Regions from separate parts of the Homo sapiens genome. Here region 2 is linked to region 1. Evidence: promoter capture Hi-C in human tissues and cell types (Jung and others, 2019). All regions are on one chromosome and are shown on one strand. The core of a region is centred on a gene start or on the middle of the fragment in contact, and the rest is flanking DNA. Distances in the headings are between cores, read along the strand shown.

Region 1 (6,557 bases), core at 3,526-6,025:
TTGGCTTGGCCTATACCTGGGAATGAGGATGGCCAGCCCATGAGGCTAGAAGCAGGCTGGAGTCCGCAGCCAGTGAGGCTAGAAGCAGGCTGGAGTCCGCAGCCAGTGAGGCTAGAAGCAGGCTGGAGTCCGCCGGGCTGAACTTCTCACTGTCATATTCTTTGCAAAGGCAGTTTCGGCCTCTGTGAATTCTTTCAGCTCAGACGCTGTGGCTGTGAATTTCTATCTGTTGGGACAAGAGCATCCAGGTTGGATGTGGGGTCCCTGGAAGATTGGTCCCATGGCCTATTTGCTGGGCAAGCTGGAGCAAGTTACTTAACCTTTCTGTGCTTCAGCTTCTCCCTTGATCACTGATTCCTTTCCTTTTCAAGGGCAAGAGGACAGAGGGAAAGTTCCTCTGTATAAAGGTCTCAAAGGTAAACACTTACAAGGGGTCAATCAAGGGGCGGTTAGGTGTTGGGGCTGCAGTAGGGAGAGGTTAGGACAGCGAGACACATAGAGCCATGTCCCTTTACAGAGGACAGTGTGCCCCAGCTCCAGCCAGGGGGAATGTGACCTCCCAGTGTGAGACCCTCTCTGGTCTCCAGTGCTCCAGTGATTTGTCATCTTGGCCAGGGTTGATGAGTCTGAGAACTTAGGTAAGATGCTCTGTTGTATTGGGTGTTGGGAGACCTGCACCCGAATTCCGGCACAGTTATTACTCACTAGCTGGGGCTGCCTGAGCCTCAGCTCTTTTGCCATTTAGGGGAACTAAGCCTTCGGCCTTGGGAAGCATATGACGAAGAGTCCAGGGTTAAATCTGCAAATTGGGAAAGGAAAGGCTAATCTCAGGCGTCAGAGGCTTCGTCCCTCTTCTCCACGCAATTCCCTTGCCCTGGGAACAGGAAGGTCAGCCAGGGGTGAGGATGGTGTAATGAAGCTTAATGAATAACCCAGGGGACTGGCCGGGGTGGGTGTTTTGCGGCCCAAGGTGTCAGGGACAGGGGCTGGCTGACGAACATGGCTCTGGTGGGGACAGGTCAGTGACCTGGCCCACCTCTCCAGCCTCATCTGCTCTCCAATGCAGCCACGTGGCTTCCCCAGCCCATCCTCTTTGTCACCCAAGCCAGGAGCTCTGGAGCCTCGTCCCTCTGGGTCTGAGCCCTGACTCTGCTACTGCTGTGTGACCTTGGGAAAGCGACTTGGCCTCTCTGGCCCTATTTCCACAATGTAGGGTTTATTATAATACTTACTTTTCCAGGTAGTTGTTAGCATTCTGTAATATAATGACATCATGGTACTTTGAACGCTTACGTGCCACCTTTGCAACTTTTGCCATATTGTCCCATCACCTCTTTTATATTAGCAATACAAAACAATAGCAGCTGGGCGCCGTGGCTCATGCCTATAATCCCACCACTCTGGGAGGCCAAGGCAGGCAGATCACTTGAGGTCAGGAGTTTGAGAGCAGCCTGGCCAACATGGTGAAACCCTGTCTCTACTAAAAATACAAAAATCAGCCAGGCGTGGTGGTGCAAGCCTGTAATCCCAGCTACTTAGGAGGCTGAGGCAGGAGAATCCCTTGAACCCGTGAGGCAGAGTTTGCAGTGAGCCAAGATCGCGCCATTGCACTCCAGCCTGGGCGACAGAGTGAATGGTGAGACTCTGTCTCAAAAAACAAAACAAAATAAAGCAAAAGCAACAGCAGCGAACACAGAGCACTAACTACTGTCCTAATATTTTCCTGCATTAATGCATTTGATCCTCACATCCACTGTACTAGGGAAGTAGTGTTTTATCCCCATCTTACATTTGAGGGAACAAGGCACAGAGAGGTTAAGTGACTTACAAAAGGTCACAGGGTCACACAGTGAGAAAGTGGCAGAACAAGTATTTGTATCAGAGCCTGGCTGCAGGTCTGTGTTTTAACTACTAGGCATGCTGCTTGTTCATGCCAGAAACTACTACTACTATTATTGCTACTAATAATTTATATACAAATATATATATTATATACAAATATATATATATTTATATACAAATATATATAATATACAAATATATATTTATATACATATACATATTTATATACAAATATATATATTTATATACATATATATTTGTATACAAACATGTATATTTGTATACAAATATATATATTATATACAAGTATATATATTTATATAAATATATATTATATACAAATATATATATTTATAAACATATATATACACACACACATATATATATTTATATATGTTTTTTAAGACGGAATTTCGCTCTTGTTGCCCAGGCTGGAGTGCAATAGCACGACCTCGGCTCACTGCAAACTCCACTTCCCCGGTTCAAGTGATTCTCCTGTCTCAGCCTCCCGAGTAGCTGAGATTACAGGCGCCCACCACCATGTCCAGCTAGCTTTTTGTATTTTTAGTAGTGATGGGGTTTCACTACATTGGCCACGCTCAAACTCCTGACCTCAGGTGATCCAGCTGCCTCGGCATCCCAAAGTGCTGGGATTACAGGCATGAGCCACCATGCCTGGCCAATTAATATATTTTTTAAAGAGGCTCCATTTTTAAACTTTAATACCTACCTTAGCTTCTTCCTAAGCCATCATATCCATGAAACTATGGGTCTGATATTTTATATGTACATACACATACATATGTATACACATATATATATACCTACATACATACACACATCTTTCCTAATGCACACAGAAATAGATTGCCAACTATTAAAAAACCTTTGGGGGCTGGGCGCAGTGGCTGTTGCCTGTAATCCGAGCATTTTGGGAGGCTAAGGTAGGAGGATTGCTTGAGGTCAGGAGTTCAAGATCAGCCTGGGCAGCACAGTGAGACCTCGTTTGTAAAACAAACAAACAAACAAACAAACAAACAAATAAACAGTGTGGGTTACGCTGGACAGCATGCACGTGTTGGTGTACAGTAGACATGCACTAAATGCAGCTAGTCTGCTTCTTGTCAAAGTCTGAGCTGTGTGCTGAGTCTCTGCCTACTTCAAGAAGCCCTCCCTGATCTTGCCCCATCCCCAGCTACCCTATGGGGACTTTCTGCCCTCTGTCATCTTAGGAAGTGTTATTGTTGCTACCGAATTGGGTGTCTTCCTCTCCCCTCCATGCTGGGGGCCACTTCAAGGCACAAACTGGATTTTATCACCTCTGTGTCCCCAGTACCCAGTCCAGGACAAGGCACCCAACAAGGATGGATGTGTGTCTAAAGCGAGGATGGGTAGAAACTTGCCAGAGTCCACATTAAGGATCACGGCCAAGCAGCTCCATCTAACCCCAAGTGGCTGGGAGTTAATCATCAAACCTGGGGAGATCAGAAACAGCCCAAGAAGGACACACAACATCTGTGATGCCAGGTCTTCCTGTTCCCACTTTCCACATAGGGAAACTGAGGCCCAGAGATGGGCACGAGCTGCTCAGGTTCACCCAGTGAGATGGTGCAGAGACAAGACATGAATTTGACCATGTCATTCCCCCCACCTAAAGCCTTCTGTGGCTCCCTAGTGCCCCTGGGTAAGGTCCAAACTCTGGATTGGTACAGGCATCCCTGTGGACTCTGATCTCTGCCCACATCTCCAGCCTCAACCCCACTTGCTTCCCCACCCCTGCCTTCTCCCTCCCAGCCCCACTGGATACTACCCTGACCCTGGAATATATCATGTTTTTCATTTCCAGACCTTTGCACTCCCTGTGCCTGACTCCTGGCTCCACTCAGACTTCCCCTCCTCCAGGAAGCCTCCCCAGCCCCCCAGGGCCAGGCGGGGTGCCTGCTCTGGGTTCCACAGCCCTGCCCCACCCTGCCAGCTGCTAACATCTGATAGCACTAATAAGTGCTCTCTAATGGCCCTCTCTAAGGGCTTTGTGAAGGCAGAGGACATGCTATTTTGTTTGAGGCCAAAGTTCCAGGGATTGGCACATAGTAGGTGTCCAATAAACATTTAATGAATGAATGAATGGTCAGTCATTCATCTGAGTAGCAAATAATTGCTTGGGTTCTCATGCTGCGTGTAAAATATCCGAGACGGAGAGGTGCTTCAGACAAAAATATACCTTTCCCATGTCACAAATAATAATTATAATAATTGTTTCCTTGGCCAGGTGCAGTGGCTCACGCCTGTAATCCCAGCACTTTGGGAGGCAGAGGCAAGCAGATCACCTGAGGACAGGAGTTCGAGACTGGCCTGGCCAACATGGTCAAACCCTGTCCCTACTAAAAATACAAAAATTAGCTGGCGTGGTGGTGGGTGCCTGTAAACCTGGCTACTTGGGAGGCTGAAGTGGGAGAATCGCTTGAATCCAGGAGGCGGAGGTAACAGTGAGCCGAGATCGCACCATTGCACTCCAGCCTGGGGGACAAGAATGAAACTGTGTCTCAAAAAAAAAAAGTTCCCTTGTCCTTGTTTTCCCATCCCAGACCTAAGCTGACCCCAACAGTGGTTCAGCATCCGGGACAATCACTAGACCTAAAATGAGAAGACATGGAGATGCCTGCATCCCGGAAGAGATGGCCCAGGGCCAGGGGTAAAGGCTGTCTCTGCCCCTTGCTGTCTGGGAAGCTTTGGCCAAATAAGTTCCCTTTTCTGAGTTTCAGTTTGCTCATCTGTCAAATGAGACAGGGTGGTGCATGAGTCATAGGCAGTGCCCGGGAAAGCGGTGAGGGTTGCTCTCATCCCCTCTCCTCCTCCGTCTTCACCCGGAGGCTTAGGGTCTGGAGCTTTCTCTTTAACAAAGGAGGAGGGACCAAGGTTGCCGGAAGCTGCCTGAAGCTGGACAGAGCCGGTTCCTGGAAAGAGCTGGTTCCCTGGCAGGCTGGAGGGCAGGAGCTGGGGCCACGCTGGTCTGGGATAGTTGGGCAGGGAGGTAAGGGGTCTGGGGCCAGCTGGGGCCCCTGGGGCTCAGTGTGTGTGTGAATGAGAGGCTGATGAGAGGCTGCAGGAGTTTGGGAGGCTTTGGGCAAAGTCCAAGCTGAGCAGGTGGGAGTGAGAGGGCCTGAGCGTGTTCTAGGCCCTCCTGGGAATGTCGATTGAATTCAGGGTGCCCTGCAGAAGAAAGTGTTGTGCTGGGGACCCTGAAGGGCGAGAGTGGGTTCTGCCTGCCAGAGGGGCAGGGTTGGGCATTCTGCCAGCCAAGGGGCCAGCCCGAGGTGTCCCAGCCCTGGCACCAGGGATTTGGCTGTGGAGTGCCACCAAGGTGGCCTCTGGGGAAAGGCTTTGGGGACAAGTGAGGTGGACAGCACTGGTGGTCCTTACCTCAACTCATAGATGTGACAGGTAAGGCCCAGTGACAAAAGTGACTTGGCCAAGGTTGGCATGACTGGGACCTGAGCCTGAGCCCCCTGCTTTCCCCTGGGTTATTCCACAGCAGGGAGACCCAGGTCCCCCATTTCAGCCCTGGTGGCTGCCATACGGGACAAGAGGTGTGTGTCCCTGGGCCAAGACAGCTCAGTCCCAGACCTCAGGTGCCTGATGGGGTCTGGGGTTGATAAGGCTGTTGGCAACTTGGGGCTTTTTCATTTAACTGATGCCTGCTGTCCTCTTGTGAGTCAGTATAACCAAGAGGGCTGGGGAAGCCTGGAAACTGAGCCAGGAGCATTTGGTTCCAAAGGACAATTGGCAATAAATATTAAATGCATGCAGCTTTCATAATAGTAACGATAACACTAGTATATTAGAGAAAGTATAGCATCGCGGTTAATAGCACAGATGCCAAAGACACTGCCTGGTGTGAATTCTGGCTATGCTGTTTCTAACTGTGTGAACTTGGATAAGTTACTTAATCTCTCTGGACCTCAGGTTCACTGTTTATAAAATGGAGTCAATGGTGAGTTAATGACTCATCTGTTGTGAGCCAACAGGTGGCTCACACCTGTTATCCTAGTGTTTTGAGAGGCAGAGACAAGAGATTTACCTGAGGCCAGGAGTTCAAGACCAGCCTGGACAACTCAGCAAAACTGCATCTCTATAAAAATTAAAATATCAGCCGGATACAGTGGTGCATGTCTACAGTTCCAGCTACTCAGGAAGCTGAGGTGGGAGGATTGCTTGAGCCCGGGACTTCAAGGTTACAGTGAGCCATGATCGTGCCACTGCACTCCAGCCCAGGCAACAGAGTGAGACCTTGTCTCTAAAACAAACACCAAAAAAACAAGAAAGCGGAAGGATTATGGAGTAGGGGGAGTTCATCCTGACAATCCCAGGATCCCCAGGGGAAAAATCTGGGGATTTCACCAAAAAGGAAGAGAGACCCAATTCCAAGTGGACAGACACCCAACATGGGTGCCCTTACCATGCAGGCTCATTGAATCCTCACAATAGTCCTGCCATGTACACGCTCTTCTTGCAGTTTGTTGTGTGGTTGGTTGGTTCTCATTTTTCGGGTCTAATTTTTAATTTTTTATTATTTTTTTTGAGACAGAGTTTCCCTCTTACTCTCTAGGCTGGAGTGCAATGGCGCGATCTCGGCTCACTGCAACCTCGCCTCACCGCAACCTCGCCTCTCAGGTTCAAGCAATTCTCCTGCCTCAGCCTCCCGAGTAGCTGGGATT
Region 2 (6,322 bases), core at 3,241-5,740, 49 kb after region 1:
TTCATCCGGCGTTCTTTGGACCGTCGGTTCTGAAACCACACCTGGGACAGAGGAGGGGGCTGTGAACCCAGGATCAGGAGTGTCCTCTCCCCCCCTCTTCTCCCTTCCCTGACTGGGCTGCCCCTGCTGGGTCCTTGCGCCTCTTCCGCACCAGGACTCCCCCGAGGCGGGGCCGGGCCGGATTAGGCCGGGAGGGGTGGAGAGAGGCTTCGGCGAACCAGCCAAGGGTGAAGGATTTCGCGGACCCGTGGGGCGACTCATAAAGACTTGGGCTTCCTGGTCCCCGGCTCGCCCGCGGCCTGACGGCTCTATAAAGGCCTCCCTCCCGGCACGGCTCTCGCCTCGGCCCCTCGGCTCCGGAGCCAGCCTCTGGCCGTTTGTCTGCCCGCGCTTCGGCGCAGGGAGGGAGGGGGCATCGCCTGTTTCTCTGCTCGAAAGGTGGAGGTAAAGAGGGATCCCGGACCCCAGAGAGGCTTACAACCTTCCATAAGCAAGGCGGGGGGCGGAATTCAGAGAGGTAAAGTGACCCGCCCCCAAATCGCAATACCAGGAGGACAGCAGGGCTAGATGGAATCTTTCGGTTCACAGTCCCCGACCTCGGGCAAGTGCCCCACTCGGGCGCACGGTCTGCTCCCAGACCAGAACCAGGCGCGCTCGTAGCCAAGGAAGCTTGGCGGGAGACTCCTCCGAGGCTCCCGGCTCCCAGGCCAGCGGGGCTAAGGAGCTGTGCCCGCCCCGGGCCGCACCTGGATGACGCGCATGTTGAGGCCGGTCTCCTGCGCCAGCTGCTCGCGGATGTGGCGCGTGGGCTTGGGCGTGGCGGCGAAGGCAGCCTTGAGCGTCTCCAGCTGCTTGGCCTTGATGGTGGTGCGGGGGCCGCGCCGCTTGGTGCCCGAGTTCTGCTCCTCGTTCTCGTTGTTGGCCGTCTCCTTGTCCGACGAGGTCGAGTTGTCCGTCTCTTTGGGGTCGTCCTGCAGTGCGTCCTGGAGGTCCGGGGACAAACTGCGGTCCGTACAGGATGACACTGCGGGCGGACGGATCGGGAAGGGGACAGCGGCGTCAGCGACGGCCAGACGCCTCTTCAGTCCAGTGGCGGGTTCCCGCCGGCCCAAGCTACGGCCTGCCCAGGCTACGGCCAGCCCCGCTGGATTCCCTCCCAAACCTGCGACAGCCCCTCCCCCAGGGACCCGGTGCCCGCCCACTCTCTCCAGGCGGGGCTGGGCCTTTGGAGGGGCGCTCTTAAGCCCTCTCCGCGCGTCTCAGCTAGTACCTGGGTAAGGGTAGGGGGACGCGTACCCTCTGGAGAACTCCCACTTTCAAGGAGAGGGGACAAGGAGGGCACAGATTCCCTTGGGGCTTGGATCTTCCTCTCTCTTCCCTCCTCTCTCCAGACCTCAATTAATGTCCTTCCAGTGCATCAAGAAATTACCTGGAGCTCAAGTGACACATAAGGGGGAATTGTGCGCTTCCAAATTAGGGGAGGAGGGCAACTTGGAAAAGGCTCCTGAATTGGAGGAGGGTGAGGCAGAGCTGGCAGGTCTCAGATCCCCTGTAAAACCTGCTCCAAAGCCACTTCTCTTCTCTAGCCTCTAACCCCCTTGCCTTGCCCTAGAACTGCCTGGGGCTGATGAGCTCCAAGCTCAGCACAGACAGCACACCGGGGGCCAAGTAGGGAGTGCCAGGCTGGGCACGGTGGGAGGGTGCTAAGGCCTAAGGCTAGTGAGGGGCCCAGGCTTCCTACCTGAGTTGAGGCTGCCCTCCTTGAGGCTGGATGAGCTCAGGTAGTCGTCTTTGCACACGAACTTGTTCTCGTCGATGACGTAGAGCTCCTCGCCGGTGGACAGCTGCTTGTTACACACCATGCAGGTGAAACAGTTGAGGTGAAAGACTTTGCTCCGGGCCTTGCGCACCAGGTCGCTGGGCGAGATGCCTTGCGCGCAGCCGGCGCATTTCGTGCCAAAGCGCCTGTGGACACAATGTGCCTGTCACTATGGGGTGGGACTGCATCCAGCCCTCCCCAGCCCCTGACCTCTTCCCACCCGACCTGGCTTCGGTGAAGTCCCCATTTCCATATCTGTCAAACGGAACCCCAATCCTGAGCGCTCTGGCCAGAGTGGGAGAAGTGGGACAAATGTCCTGAGCTGCTTTTGGGACTGGGACTGCCATGCCTCCACTGGGGCTTTTCAGACTCTCCTGAGCTGGGAAGGGGTGAGCAGTGGGTGCAGCCTTCAGCCAAGAAGAGAGCCCAGAGCACCCCAAGATGTCCTCCCCCAAACCCAACCCCTGCCAGGCCTGCCTGGGCTGCTCCAGGCAAACTCAGAGTCCATGAATGATTTGAAGCCAGGCGGGGAGGGTTTGGGCCACTTGGTGGCTCTGCCTCCTGGATCCTTTCTAGTCTGCTGCTGCCTAGCTAGGGCCAATCTGCCTGGCTGGCTGAGCCTAGCCATGAGGTGGGGAGCCCTTCTCCTAGGCTGGAAGGAGGAAGCAGAAAGGAGGGAACCTTCCACTGATTTCCAGTACCAATGGAGAGGCTTTCCAATCCACCGCTCTGGGACCCGCTGGAGCTAATCAGGAGCTGTGGACAGCAGGGCCTCATAGTGATGGACCCTAGAGAGCAGGGATGAGTTTCAGCCCCCCTAAACCTCTGGCCTGGCAGGCAGCAGGGGAATGTGAATAGAGGACAATCATAGATCCTGCAAGGCCAGGACAGGAATCTCTCAAATCCCCGCTTTCCCGCGTTCCTGATCTCATTCCTTTTCTTTCTTCTTTGAGCTCAGGGAGAAAGCCAGCCTCCCCCGAAATAGGAGATGGGTGAGGCTCAGGTTGGGGGTGGGGTGGGGGAGGACCCAGGACTCTAGGGACCCCACATCTACTCACACCCATGTCTCTAAACAGGGCGAATTTGGGTGACATTGATGTAGTGAGGGCATTAGAAGCCATAAGTCACTTTTGGCCTTATCCGGCAGCGTAATTGGCCATATGCACCTTATCAAAAATCATTAGGCACTTTGCAAGCACTGCTACATTAGGGGCATCGGGCCTCCGGGTCCAGGGAGTTAACACGTGTAAAGGAGCGGCTGACATTTTCTCCCATTCAAATTCTCAGTGCGGAGTCGCTGGGGCCGGCAGGCTGCCTTTCTCTGTGGCGTGATTCACGCCCCCATTCCTCAGCGCGGGGAATTCCTGTTCACAAAGCCGGCTCTGGGTGCCCAGAGGAAACAGGTAGGGCTCAGCTGCCCCAAACTCCAGTGGCTTCCAGGCTGGGGAAACTGAGGCCCAGAGAGGTGATCTGCCCTGGCCAGCCACAGGGCCCACAGGGGTAGGGGGGCTGGGGAGGTGCCACAGCCCAGTCTAGACCCCAGAGGTCCTGATTCTCAGCCTCGATTTCGTTTCTACTTTTCAACATGGGAGGAAATGTTTAAGGGGTTGGGAGGTGGGTGGGGGAGGTTCTCTCCTCCCATCACCAGGGGAGACCTTCCTCGCTGGGCCCCCTCTGGAGCTGAGAAGTTTCTGTTTGGGATTGCGGCCGATGGGCTCACACATTCTGCCTGGAGCGAGAAGCCTTCAGGCGTCTCTAACTCATGCAAAAATCCTTCCTCTCTCTCGGGACGGGGCTTGAAGCTTCTGTCTTGGGGTTGCAGCTGCTTGGAAGGGGCGGAGAGGAGTGGATAGCAAGTTTGTCAGGGCTTCCTCCCTCTGCCCCGCCAGCGCTCTGAGCCGGCCTCGAGCCAACGTGAGGCAGCGAAGCAGCGTCCTTCTTCCTCCGCCTGGGCTCGGGACCTTTCCTGGACCAAGGACAGGAGGAGAGCAAAGTGCTGCCCGCTCCCCATCTAAGCTTGTGATCCGGGGAGGCTGGGATGGGGATGGGGGTATCCCCTTCCCCAGCGCCCCAGTGGAGCGCGCGCAGGGTGGGCGCGCAGGCAGCAGAGCGGCGCGGCCTCTTACCTGAAAAAGTCATTTTTGCAGTAGAGCTTGCCCTCGCGCGAGAAGCACTTCTCCGAGAGGTTGGTTTTGCACTCGCAGCACTGAACACATTTGATGTGCCACGCGCGGTCCAGCACGTTCAGCAGAAAGCGGTCGAGGATGGGCCGCTCGCAACCGGCGCAGTGCACCATCATAGCCCCGCGCCCCGGCGGCTTCGGCCGCCTTGCCCTCCCTTTGGGCCCCTGGCCCTCGGGCCTGCCGGGCCCTCCGCTGCCCTTCGCCTCTTGTCTCAGCAGCTGCAGGGCGAGTCTGGTCCGGACCAAGACTCAGCCGGTCCAGTCCTTGGGCAATCTCTGGCCTGGCGCTGGGCTGCCCGGAGTGGGGTGGTGGGGGGCGGGTGGCGTTCACAACCTCATGCCACGGGCCGCACGCCCCGGCGCCTGTTCCGGGCTTCCCCAGGTATCTCGGGTGGCTGCTGGCCTCGGCGCTGCGGAGCGGCTTTCCCCGGTGGCGGAGGCGCCGGCACTTTCCCCCACTTTCAAGCGGTCCGGATCCTCATCTTTGTCTGGTCGCCGCGTAATTCGCGCATCCTTATTCAGATTTGGTGACGTGGCGCTGCACGTAGGGGGCCCAGCGGCCAATGGGCGCACCGTGGCCATGGCAACCTCTTAAATTTATAGCATATCTAAATTGGCTACAGCGTTGCTGTCCGGACAGAGCAAAAAAAACAAGGCATCAGTATTGTTGAGTATTAGCTTGTACCTGGTTCGGAGGCTAAGTAAGTATTTACCTTCCAGTTTGGGGCTGACGGGGCGGGGGCAGCGCGAAACGAAAATTGCGTCTCTCTTCCTCTCTCTTTCTCCTCACAAATATTTGGGGGTCACGGGTTCCAAGGCCTAGTCCGGGAGGTACCCCTGCCCCCTTCGCCATCCCTGGAACTTGCAGAAGTTGCCCCACGCCCCACACTTCGCTCCCCTTCTCCAGCCCAGCCAGCCCAGATTGGATTCCCCCACCCCCGCGCCCCCTCTGCGCCCTGAAGCTGCGTCAGCGCGGTTCTCCCGGCTCCTGGAGCCGGCCCCGGCTTCTTTTTGTCATACACGGGGCTGGGGCCCAGCCGGGCCTTTCTCATGGAGAGAGCTAGTGGAGACCGCGCGGCCTGGGTAGTTTTCCCCGCCCGGCCGCCGAGCCCAGGCCCAGGCCCAGGGTGGGGAGGCGGGGGAGCAGGAGGGGTGCCATTTGGCCTGGTCCCGAACTCCAGAGTTTCAGGCCTGAGTGCGCTGCTCACGGGGCTCTGAGGGAGATGTGGACAGGGGGAGATTCAGGGTGGACGGGTCTTCCCGCAGACAGCTCGGAGGTGGCACTCACCACGTCTCTCCTTTCCTCGCTGCACCTTCCAGATTCCAGGTCAGCCTATGGGGCACTGTGGTGAGTGGGTCGTACGGCTGAGGCGGGGGACACCAGCGACTATGAGAGCGCTGTTTGTATTCACGCCGTGCGGGCTGGGTGTGCAAGTTCGTCCCCTCATTGGGCGCAGGAGAAGCGGCGCACGTATGTTCCGTGCTCGGCAGGGCGCCCAGAGTGTGAGGAGAGAGAGTGTGTGTGTGTTAAGGGGGAGGGGGGATGTTGGCAGGTGTGCGTGAGGAGGGGGTGTGTGGGTCTGAGTAGGAGAAGGGACCAGGCCTCCTTTCCCCTGGGGCCAGCGTGGCCACCAGGGATCCTAGTTGGGGAAGCCGGGAATGGGCAACCAGGATTTGCCTTTCGCTTCTGGAAAGGGGGCTGAGGGAGTAGGGCCTGGGACCAAGGGCTGGAGCTGGAGGGGTTTGTGCCAGCACTTGGCTGTGAATGTTTGTTTGGGTGTGTTTCCTGAGCTTGTTAGTGTATACTCGCTGTTTGAGAATTCCATTTTTGCATCTGTTTATTGTGTTAGTACCATCAATCCTGTGAGTAAATTTCTGCGTGTGCGTTTTCGTGTGTGCAGATTCGTGTGTTTGTAATTGTGTATGGTCCTGCTAATGTTTGTGTTTATCACTGTGTGCACTTTTATTTTTGTTGGTCTGTGCCTATGTGTGTTTGCTTATTTGAGGATGCATAAATGTGAGGGTGTTTTCATGTGTACGTGTGCATTCACGTAAGAGTGTTTGTGTCTGTGTTTGCAAGCATTGATGTGAAGGTGTACTTTGAAAAATCTGAATGTGTGTGTTTGTGTGTAGGTGAGGGCGTGCATGCTTGAGACCCTGTGTGTATGAGACTGAGCTGGCTTGGTTGTGTTTGTGAGTGCAGAATTCTGAAGAGCTATGTTTGTGTGCCAGTCGCTGTGTGTGTGTGCCTGCAAATGTGTGTATTTGTGCAAACAGTAGTTTTTTGTTTATGCAACTCCTGTAGGCTTTTGTGTGTGTGT

The links. Contacts are between HindIII fragments. The study calls those that stand out against the background at their distance.
Region 2: the fragment with the promoter of LHX5 here is called in contact with the fragment with the promoter of SDSL in region 1 in 1 of the 25 tissues and cell types used here (adrenal gland).

The regions. Positions count from the first base shown.
Region 1 is chr12:113,417,605-113,424,161 of GRCh38, forward strand. It overlaps SDSL (serine dehydratase like), which reads left to right and starts at 4,776. Exons shown (of 8, transcript NM_001304993.2): 1 at 4,776-4,873. RefSeq lists an enhancer at 533-1,033. The HindIII fragment of the contact is 24,154 bases long and covers 2,745-6,557 here.
Region 2 is chr12:113,467,381-113,473,702 of GRCh38, forward strand. LHX5 (LIM homeobox 5) reads right to left here and starts at 4,491. Exons shown (of 5, transcript NM_022363.3): 1 at 3,946-4,491; 2 at 1,742-1,965; 3 at 747-1,024; 4 at 1-41. The coding sequence starts at 4,118. LHX5-AS1 (LHX5 antisense RNA 1) reads left to right here and starts at 4,623. Exons shown (of 2, transcript NR_126425.1): 1 at 4,623-4,702. RefSeq lists enhancers at 482-1,475, 3,573-4,373. The HindIII fragment of the contact is 9,096 bases long and covers 2,146-6,322 here.